2 separate regions of the Homo sapiens genome follow, and region 1 is linked to region 2. Evidence: promoter capture Hi-C in human tissues and cell types (Jung and others, 2019). All regions are on one chromosome and are shown on one strand. The core of a region is centred on a gene start or on the middle of the fragment in contact, and the rest is flanking DNA. Distances in the headings are between cores, read along the strand shown. Region 1 overlaps LOC105371912 (a long non-coding RNA gene). Region 2 holds the start of USP36 (ubiquitin specific peptidase 36).

The links. The method cuts DNA at HindIII sites, captures the fragments that hold promoters and counts their contacts. A contact is called where the count stands out against the background at its distance.
Region 1: a contact is called between a fragment that was not itself captured here and the fragment with the promoter of USP36 in region 2, in 1 of the 25 tissues and cell types used here (aorta).

What each region holds. Positions count from the first base shown.
Region 1 is chr17:78,316,272-78,320,871 of GRCh38, reverse strand. The region is part of intron 1 of LOC105371912 (a long non-coding RNA gene); the gene reads right to left. Among named protein-coding and RNA genes, the nearest start is that of LINC01993, 40 kb to the right of the region's middle. RefSeq lists enhancers at 3,050-3,344, 3,776-3,845. The HindIII fragment of the contact is 6,869 bases long and covers 1-4,600 here.
Region 2 is chr17:78,838,248-78,842,902 of GRCh38, reverse strand. It overlaps USP36 (ubiquitin specific peptidase 36), which reads left to right and starts at 2,089. Exons shown (of 21, transcript NM_001385174.1): 1 at 2,089-2,167; 2 at 4,153-4,316. It overlaps LOC124904067 (a long non-coding RNA gene), which reads right to left and starts at 1,789. Exons shown (of 2, transcript XR_007065923.1): 1 at 1-1,789. RefSeq lists silencers at 1,602-1,701, 2,162-2,681 and enhancers at 1,822-2,011, 3,606-4,120, 4,121-4,635. The HindIII fragment of the contact is 7,372 bases long and covers 1-4,655 here.

The sequences.
Region 1 (4,600 bases), core at 1,333-3,832, 520 kb after region 2:
GCCCCCAGGCTAAATCCAACGTGCTGCCTGTTTTTGTTCAGCCCGCAAAAAATGGTTTTTACAGGCCTGGCGCGGTGGCTTACACCTGTAATCCCAGCACTTTGGGAGGCCGAGGTGGGTGGATCACGAGGTCAGGAGTTCAAAACCAGCCTGGCCAACATGGTGAAACCCCATCTCTATTCAAAAATATAAAAATTAGCCCGGCATCGTGGTGCGTGCCTGTAATCCCAGCTACTCGGGAGGCTGAGGCTGAGGCAGGAGAATGGCTTGACCCCGGGAGGTGGAAGTTGTGGTGAGCCGAGACTGTGCCACTGCACGCCAGCCTGGGCAACAGAGCAAGATTCCACTAAAAAAAAAATGGTTTTTACACGTTTTAGTTTCTTTTTTTTTTTTGAGACAGGGTCTCACTCTGTTGCCCAGGCTGGAGTGCAGTGGTGCGATCTCAGCTGACTGCAACCTCTGCCTCTGAGTCCAAGTGATTCTCATGCCTCAGTCTCCCAAGTAGCTGGGACTATAGGCGTGTGCCACCACATCTGGCTAATTTTTTTTCTATTTTTAGTAGAGACAGGGTTTCACCATGTTGGCCAGACTGGTCTCGAACTCCTGGCCTCAAATGATCTGCCCATCCCGGCCTCCCAAAGTGCTGGGATTACAGGTGTGAGCCACCGCACTCGGCCTACATGTTTTAATTTTAATTTTAATTATTTTTTTGAGACAGGTTCCCGCTCTGTTGCCCAGGCTGCAGCGCAGTGGTGTGATCATGGCTCACTGCTGCCTTGACCTCCTGGGCTCAAGGGGTCCTCTTGCCTCAGCCTCCTTGACTAGCTTGGACCACAGGTGTGCACCACCATGCCTGACTAATTTCTTCATTTTTTGTAAAGACGGAATCCCACTGTGTTTCCCAGGCTGATCTTGAACTCCTGGGCTCAAGTGATCCTCCCGCCTTGGCCTCCCAAAGTGCTGGGATTACAGACGTAAACCACTGTGCCTGGCTGGTTTTTACATTTTTAAGTGGTTGAAAAACCAAGCAAAAGAAAAAAGAATATTTCATGATGTGAAAATCACACGGAATTCAAGTTGCAGTGTGCGTACGCAGTTGTGTTGGAACACAGCCATACTCACTTGTTCGTGAGTGGTCCATGGCTGCTTCCTCACTAAGCAGAGGCTGAAATATTTACTACCTGGCCCTTTTCAGAGAAAGTTTGCTGCCCTCTGGCCTAGGGGAAGCACATGCAAAACCAGCGGGCAAAAGACTACAAGGTTCTGGGCATTGGCAGAAGCCGACTGCAGCTGGAGCAGAGAAGGGAAGGCAGGTGTTGGGAGCGGGCGGGACAGAGGCCACAGAGGCCACCAGCTCCTGACACCAAAGAGGGCCCTGCCATTCCCACCCAGGAGAGGGCAGAGGTCAAGCGGCGGGGGGTGGGCTCTGTCTAGTGGCCACCATCCAGGTGCCCTCCTGCCCAAGCCTCCCAGGCAAGCAGGGAGGAGAGAAGGGACTAGGGAGGAACAGAGAGCGCCCCAACTGTGTATCCACAGGGAGCAGCAGACAGCATGGAAGCCTCCAAATCAGGACACCCCGATCCTTCTCCATGGAAACTGGGGGATGCCTCTCTTCTGTGGGGCTTGACTACCCCTCCCTTGCCCCATGGAGCCAAGACAGGCTTGGGGCTCAGGGATCGGGGTTTGGGGAGGGGCTGCTGTCCTAACTCTAACCCCCCCCACACACTCCCCCGCTACATCCCCACCGCCTGCCACCAGCGAGGCCCGTGGGGTCCTCCCTCCACCTCTCTTCTGTGAAGAGAGCAGAGAGAGTGATGGAGTCTGGGGCGGGTCCACATCTGGCTGAGGGGTGCTGAGGTCACAGCTGGGACCCACATGGCCCTTTGGTGGGGAGAGGAGCTGCCACCAAGGAGGATGAGGAGCCAGAGAGCATTGTTGGGGCTCCTGTGGGAGGCTGGGACCATAGAATGCTCTCAGGGGACCCCTGGACACTTACGGGGCTGCCCAGGCGATCTCTCTGGGGGAAGGTCGTGCCCATTCCAATCCCAGCACACTTTGGTGGGATGACACATGCACACCCAACCCAGAGGGAGCTGCTAGGCTTCTCCCCTGGGTGAGGGTGGCGGTCGGGCTGGGGTCCCTCTCTACCTGGACGGATGCTTCTCTGAGATAGATTCCGGGGGTTGGTTTTTCTTTCCCGGCCTTTTCCTCACTCTGCCCAGATCTGCAAACCCGGAGCTGGGGCTGGTCTGCTCCTCATTTGTCTCTGAGTTCCCTTCCAGAGTCGGGTCCTTAGGCAGCTGCCTAAGGACTGGCCTCCCAGGGTCACCCTCTGATGCATCTGGGACCAGTTGGAGTGGCTCTGGAAATATCCCCCCTTCCTCAGTCATCTCCACACTCCCCAGAATTGGGGTGGAGTTTCAGAGGTGGGGTGGAGGTGCTGGTGGGAGTACGGAAGAAAAAGGAGGCTGGGAGCAGCCTCCACTGTCCTCCTCTCCGGCCCTAGCACGCACTGCTTGCACCTGTGTTGGGTGCCCCTGTCCGGAAGACAACACACGGAGGGCACCTGAGTGGATGCGGGAGGCCAGCTGGGCTTGCTCAGGTGGGAAGTCAGGGAATCTGGGGGAGGCTGCAGGCTAAGTGGTTCTGGGGTGGGTGACGTCGTGGGAAATGCGTGTCTATCCCTCTGCCGGGCACACAGAGAACAGACTCCTCCAGTGAGTCCAGCAGGGCAGGGTGTGCTTGCCAGAGCACAGGCCAAGCTTCCTGCCAGCCAGGACTGCAGAGGGTCCCCCTTCTTCCCTCTCTCCTCCTCACCACACCTGCAAAGTGTGGGACCTGCTAGCTCAGTCCTCATTCCTTCCCTCCTTTTTCTCTCCCTACCTGTCCACCTTCCCCTGGCCTGGTGCTGGGAGGTCCTCTTCAGCCAGGCTGAGGCTGGCAGCCTCGTCTCCAGCCCCCTCCTCTGGCAGCCACAGCTAACTCTTGGCTCACACACCCACCTGGCTCCTTCACCCAGGGGAGCCCCACCTCCCAGCCATCCCTGGGTCTAGGATCCAGAATGCTCAATCCTGGATGTCGCCTCACTTTGCATTGAACCTTCCAGCCAAGGTCCCCACCCTTGCCCTTCCCTGTTCCTCCCTCCCACTCTCTGAACTTCCTAAAGCCCCTCCCCTCCCTGCCTGCAAGTCACCTGACTGGGAGGCCAGCCCTACCCAGATTCCCCACCCCAACTCTCCCAGCTCTGAAAACAAGAAGTGCTGTCCCTGCACTGCAAACCCCCACCTGGTCCCGGTCCACACATTCCAGCCATGCCGCTCAGGCAGTCATGCTCCTATAAACACGTACACACTCACACACGTGCACACATACGCACATATGTACATGCACAGCGCACACATGCACAATCACACAGGTATGCGTGTGCATCTGTGCATACACGTGTGCGCCCTCGTGCACACGCATACATGTGCATATTCACATTCTCACACACACATGCACACTCACATGCACACACGCACACGCACTCTTGAACCACCTGAACAGTTTTACACCCCATGCTTCTTCCTCTCAGGCTTGCGAAGTGCTACTTCCTATATCTTAAATCCCCTCCAGGGACCTGCAATTATGACTTGGGGTCACCATTAGCTCACCCAAGGCTCCTTCCAGAGCAGAACCCCCACCCCACCCTTCAGATCAGTTATACTTCCCTGCTCCCAAGAACTGACATATACTTTAGAATATATATAGCTGAGCTTAAAAAAAAAAAAGAAAAAAGAAAAAACCCTATTACTGTCGGATATTGGTTAATGATTGGTGAGGGAGTTGGAGGGGGAGAAATCCCCGCCCACAAGGCTCAGTTTCACTGGGAAAGGGACTTTCCTTAGAAGGAACCAAGACGTCTTGTATCATCAGCTCTTAACGATTTGGGAAGGGAAGCTAAATAGCTCTTTCCTGTAATTCGAACAACTAAATTATTCATCGAGAGCTGCAGACAGAGATTGGACAGTGACCCGAGAGGCAGGAGACCCCAGCCCAGCCCCATGACCCAGGCACAGGGCCACCTCCCCGGCTCCTGAGGGGCCAGTGCCCGAATTAGAGGGGTCTGGAAAGTGAGCGGCCCCAGGGGTCCCAGAGGGTGGTGGGAGAGCCTGGATTCTAGCTGGGAGATGGGGGAGGAGGGAGACAGGAGAGAGTCAAAGGGCCCTGGCACTCAGGGACTTGTCCAGATGGGAAGGGGCCTGAGTGGCTTCCCCTTGCTGTACCCCCTGCGGCCTGGAGCCCCTCCCCTGACCTTGGGCTGTTGGGGTGAAGCAGGCACGCCCAGAATCCTCCCTCAAGATATGGCCTGGCCTCCTTCTGCCACAGGAGGCTTGGAATGGGGAGGCAGGGAACAAGGGACAACCAAGCTTGTCCCTCAAATTCAAAACAGCCCGCAGTTCACTCCCCTTGATGCCCGGTTCTGGGCAGGGGAGACATGGCTGGGTGAGAAACACCGCCCCGAAGCTCCTGCTCCACCACGCACTCGCCCTCAGCGTGCAGGCCTTGTGCTCCGAGCCGGGAGGGAGGCAGAGACGGCATTGGCTTGGAATGGGATCCT
Region 2 (4,655 bases), core at 840-3,339:
CTGAATGATCTCTAAATCCTAAAAGAGAAAACTAGAGAAACATTAAAGATGAAAGAATAAAATATTCTGTTATAGAAAGCTGTAACCAAAACGGATCACATTAGAACTTACCTCAAGAAAAAGGTGCATTAACAGAATAGTTGTATTGTCACCCAAAAATTACCTGGTCCGCTCCCTGCCTGGGAGGTCAAGGTAAGATGGACTCAATTCCTCTCCTGGTTTCACAGCCTGTAGAAGATGGCTGAAGATTTGGGCTAATTTCGTGAGAGACCTACGTTGCATTTCTTTCTTTTTTTTTTTTTTAGACCAAGTATTGCTCTGTTGTCCAGGCTGCTGGAGTGCAATGGCACGATCTCAGCTCATTGCAACCTCCACCTCCCAGGTACAAGCGATTCTCCTGTCTCAGCCTCCCTAGTAGCTCGGATTACAGGCGTGCGCCACCATACCCAGCTAATTTTTGTATTTTTAGTAGAGACAGGTTTTCACCATGTTGGCCAGGCTGGTCTGGAATTCCTGACCTCAAGCGATCTGCCTGCCTCGGCCTCCCAAAGTGCTAGGATTACAGGCGTGAGCCACTGTGCCCTGCCTTTTTTTCTTTTCTTTTCTTTTCTTTTGAGACGGAGTCTCGCTCTGTCGCCCAGGCTGGAGTGCAGTGGCGACATCTCAGCTCGCTGCAACCTCCGCCTCCTAGGTTCAAGGGATTCTCGTGCCTCAGCCTCCTGAGTAGCTGGGATTACAGGCGCCCACCACCACACCCAGCTAATTTTTGTATGTTTAGTAGAGACGGGGTTTCACCATGTTGGCCATGCTGGTCTCGAACTCCTGACCTCAGGTGATCCGCCCACCTTGGCCTCCAAGTGTTGGGATTACAAGGGTGAGCCACCGCGCCCAGCCCAAGGATTCTTACAGATAGGGCATAGTCTCAGCATCAGACTAATATGGTTATCTTGTTTGCTTTTTTCAAAAAACACCAGCGCCCAGGTAATAAATACAAGGTGAATTTTGTTCCAAGTACATCTAGCCTCTCTCCCCATCTCCAGTCCCTGCTTTAGGATCCGTGGGGAGGGCATGGAAATTCGTTTTGGGTTGTTTACCTGTGACTTCACCCTACTCATCATTCCTACTTACATCAAAAAAGACACAGCAGATACGACTGTGTTTGCAAAGTTCTGCCTTTTGGATAAAGTAGTTTATGCCCATCCTGTGCTTCTCTGAGTTTCTGAGGTCAGGCCAGGAACCAACACTCTCAACCTGCCCAAGGGAATGGGGAGGAAGCCAGCGAAGTTGCCTCAGATCAAGAGGATTTTTAAAAATACTGCAAAAGAAATACGTGCTCACAAATACTCAGCTAAAACCTTCGCAGAGCTGTCAGAGGACAAAGCTTTTGGAGGGAGTGGGTGGAGCTAGAGATTGCACAGCCGCCACCAGCCTACAAAGGTCAAATCTCACACTCTCAGATCCCTAATTCCGAAGAGCCATTTCCTCGGCAGCCCCAGGCTTTGGCCGATCGCTCCCAGATCCCTCCCTCCCCAAACTGCAGGTGCTCCGCGTGTGGGAGTCACGGATGGCCCCAGAGCCCGGGACGTTAAGGCCGAGCGCCCGCGCCTCCGCTTCTCCACAGCCACCTGACGGCCAGGGGCAGGTGGGGGAGCCCAGCCTTCTCCCTGCCCGGGAGACAGCGCGGGAGGGCTGTTGCAGGGGTGGGCAAAGTCCCTCGAGTCCCCGTTCTGGGGCGGGGGCGCGCGCCACTGTCACACTTCAGGCGTCCGCCACGCCGCCAGGTGTGCTCGGCCGACCCGGAAGTAGCGGCACCTCTAGTGCGCTGCGGAGACGTCACCCTGCCGCGGCACAGGGGCGGGAGCGCCTGTGGCTCTGCGCACTTGCGTCATCACGTAGGCTGGCGGGGTCCCGTGATGGGGAGGTGACGTAGGCGACACGGAAGCGGCGGTGGGCGGGGACAGGGAGTTAGCGGAATCTAGCCCCGCCTCTTAAAGCCTCCCAACCCTTTCGGAGTTAGCGCAGCGCGAACGCTGGGTGCGGCGCCTTTAAGCGTCGCGGTGACACGTGTGTGAGGCGCCGGAGGCCCGGATGGTGCGCGTGCTGGGCCGCGGGCCGAAGGAGTCGCCAGGGCTGCGTAGGCTTGTGGCGCGCCCGCGGAGAGGCCGGGGTAGGCTGGGGTCGGGTCGGGGCGGTGCGCAGGCCTGGGGACGAGACCGGGGCGGGGGGTTCCGCGAGGCCTGGGGCGCGGGAAGGGCTGGCGGGCGCAGCCGGGACGCTCAGGGAGAACGTGGGCGCGGGTCCGCGCAGGGCTTCGGCCGTCCCCGAGGAGGACCCGGGATGCTCCGCCCGCTCGCGAGCTCGCTTCTCCAGAGCCCGGGTATTCCCGAGGAGGGTCCGGGGCCGGGCTGTCCTCGCCGGTCTCCGCCGTCCCCCGGGCTCCGGGCCGGTGATGGGGGTCGCCGGGGCCCGCTGTCTGTGCAGGATTCAGGTCAACTTCGGAGAGGTTGAAGTCGGAATCAGGGCGAGGGCGTCGCGTGCGGCCGCAGAGCTCAGCGGGGCGGGTGCGGCCCCGGGGCGGGCACCTTCCTCGTGGTTGCGGAGGAGGCCATGGAGCCCGGGGCGGGGTGCGGTTCCGATGCTGCTGCTTCTGGCGGGTGGCGTGGGGGTCCTGGGCCTGGGGCTGGAGTGGCGGCCGCCAAACCCAGACACACGAGAGGGGAGACTCCGCGCGCCCCCGTTTACGTAACGCTCGCCACGGAGCCATGCTCGGGGAGAGGTGCTCGGGTCGCTGTGTCCGCGGCCGGGCTCGGGGCAGGCGCTGCGGAGTCGCCCGGGAGGCCCCTGGAGCGCGGCGCTGGGCCCCGGGAGGCCGCTGCTTCCGTGGGCTCCTCTCCCCAGCACGTGGTTGACCCTGCGAGCGTCCGTTGCAGTTCATCCTGGAAAAGTGACTTTAGAAGGAGGAGGGAGCGGGAATGAGCCTAAATGGTGCTGGCTGGGGTTCGCGCAGGTGGAAATGTGGATGAGGCCTGTGCTGTCCTTGGACAAGAGAGAGCATCCTTCCTGAGTTGGGTAGAGTGTGGATGGTGTGTGCGTCGGAGGGATTGCTAGTGATTACAGGAACACTTGTCTCGGGCTCCTACACGTCAGAGAGCGAGCGAGCGTTGTTTAGGTTATTGCTTAATGTTTTAGGTGGAATTGGTGAAGTAGAGATTGACCTGTCCCACTTGAAAAATTGTGTTCAAAATCTCTGCATCTACATTAAGGAGTGGGTTAAGTTCAAAGTTACTTATCTCGAGTGAAACTGGGTTACATCTCCCAAGGTTCGTTTATCCCCTCCCTAAGTGGTTCTCAAGCGTTGGTTGTGCATGACAGAGTTCTCACCTTCCAGGGTAGATGTGAGTCCTAACCGAAAGCAGTGATATTGTGGGGAGTTTTTAATACGACTGGATGTCTTCACTTTGTAGATGGCTTTTATTCTGAGATCATTTCCTTACACATTTTTCGGGAGTTGGTATGCTTTTATTTATGGATGAAGTCATAGGTCTGAGATTTGCTGTAGAATTACCTGGGGATGGGAAGTGACTCAGGATGGGTCAGATGTAGTTACTGAGGCTGAATAAGGGGGGCTCATGTGCTCCCTGTGCGGTTCTCCATCTGTGTGTTTGAATGTTTTCACTGTAAACTGTTTTTACGAACCTTAATTTTATGTAATCATAGTGATCGTAGATGGTAATGAAAGAGAAAATCCACACTTAGCAAAGCAAAATTTTGGCAACTCCTATTACTCCCTGAGGTTTGTTGTTGTTGTTATTGAAGTTTTACTGGTTCATTAAATCCAAAACTTGGGGATTTATTACCTCTTACTCTTTGGAAATAAGATTAGACTGGAGCTGACTGGCAGGTGTTGGGGAGGTTTTCCTTCTCTGGGCTTGTCTGGGGTCAAGGTTAAGGTGTTCATATCGTGTGCATTACAACAACTGGTGATGAGGTAGTACGGTCCACCCGCCTCATCCTGAGTGCACGCGTGGATGCTCCTTGGACGGCTTTTTCGTGGTAGAGGGTTCCCGGTGCGCGCCGCATCCCTGGGAAGTAGCTGAAGAGAAGGCACAGGAAGAGTCGCCTCCACTGATGGTCTCCCTGTCCCTCCCACAGGCTCTGACGCCCGCTCTGCGGCTTCGGTGTTTGAACAGGCCACAGTCCAGGAGCGCTTACATTCAGGAGCTCCGCGTAGCACCTGCCCAACCAAACTCAGCCCTCCGTTAAGATCCTGGTTCCATGCCGCAGTAGGACAGCAGGCCCAAGTCTGCACATCCCAGGTGAGTCTGCGAGGCTTCTGTGTATTTTTTGATTCCGTTGAATTGTCTGCATGTGACGCAGCAGTGATTGTTCAGTTGGTGAGAAGTCTTTGATAATTCTCATGAGAAAAGGCTCTTTTATTTTCTCAAATCAGACAACTTATAATGCTTTTTTTTAAATAAGCTTCTGAAATTTCTTTACAGAAGTTTTTTGTTTTTTGTTTTTTTTTTTTTTTGAGACCAAGTCTTGCTCTGTTGCCCAGGCTGGAGTGCAGTGGCGCGATCTCGGCTCACTCCAACCTCTGCCTCCCGTGTTCAAGCAATTCTCTGCCTCAGCCTCCTGCGTAGCTGGGATTACAG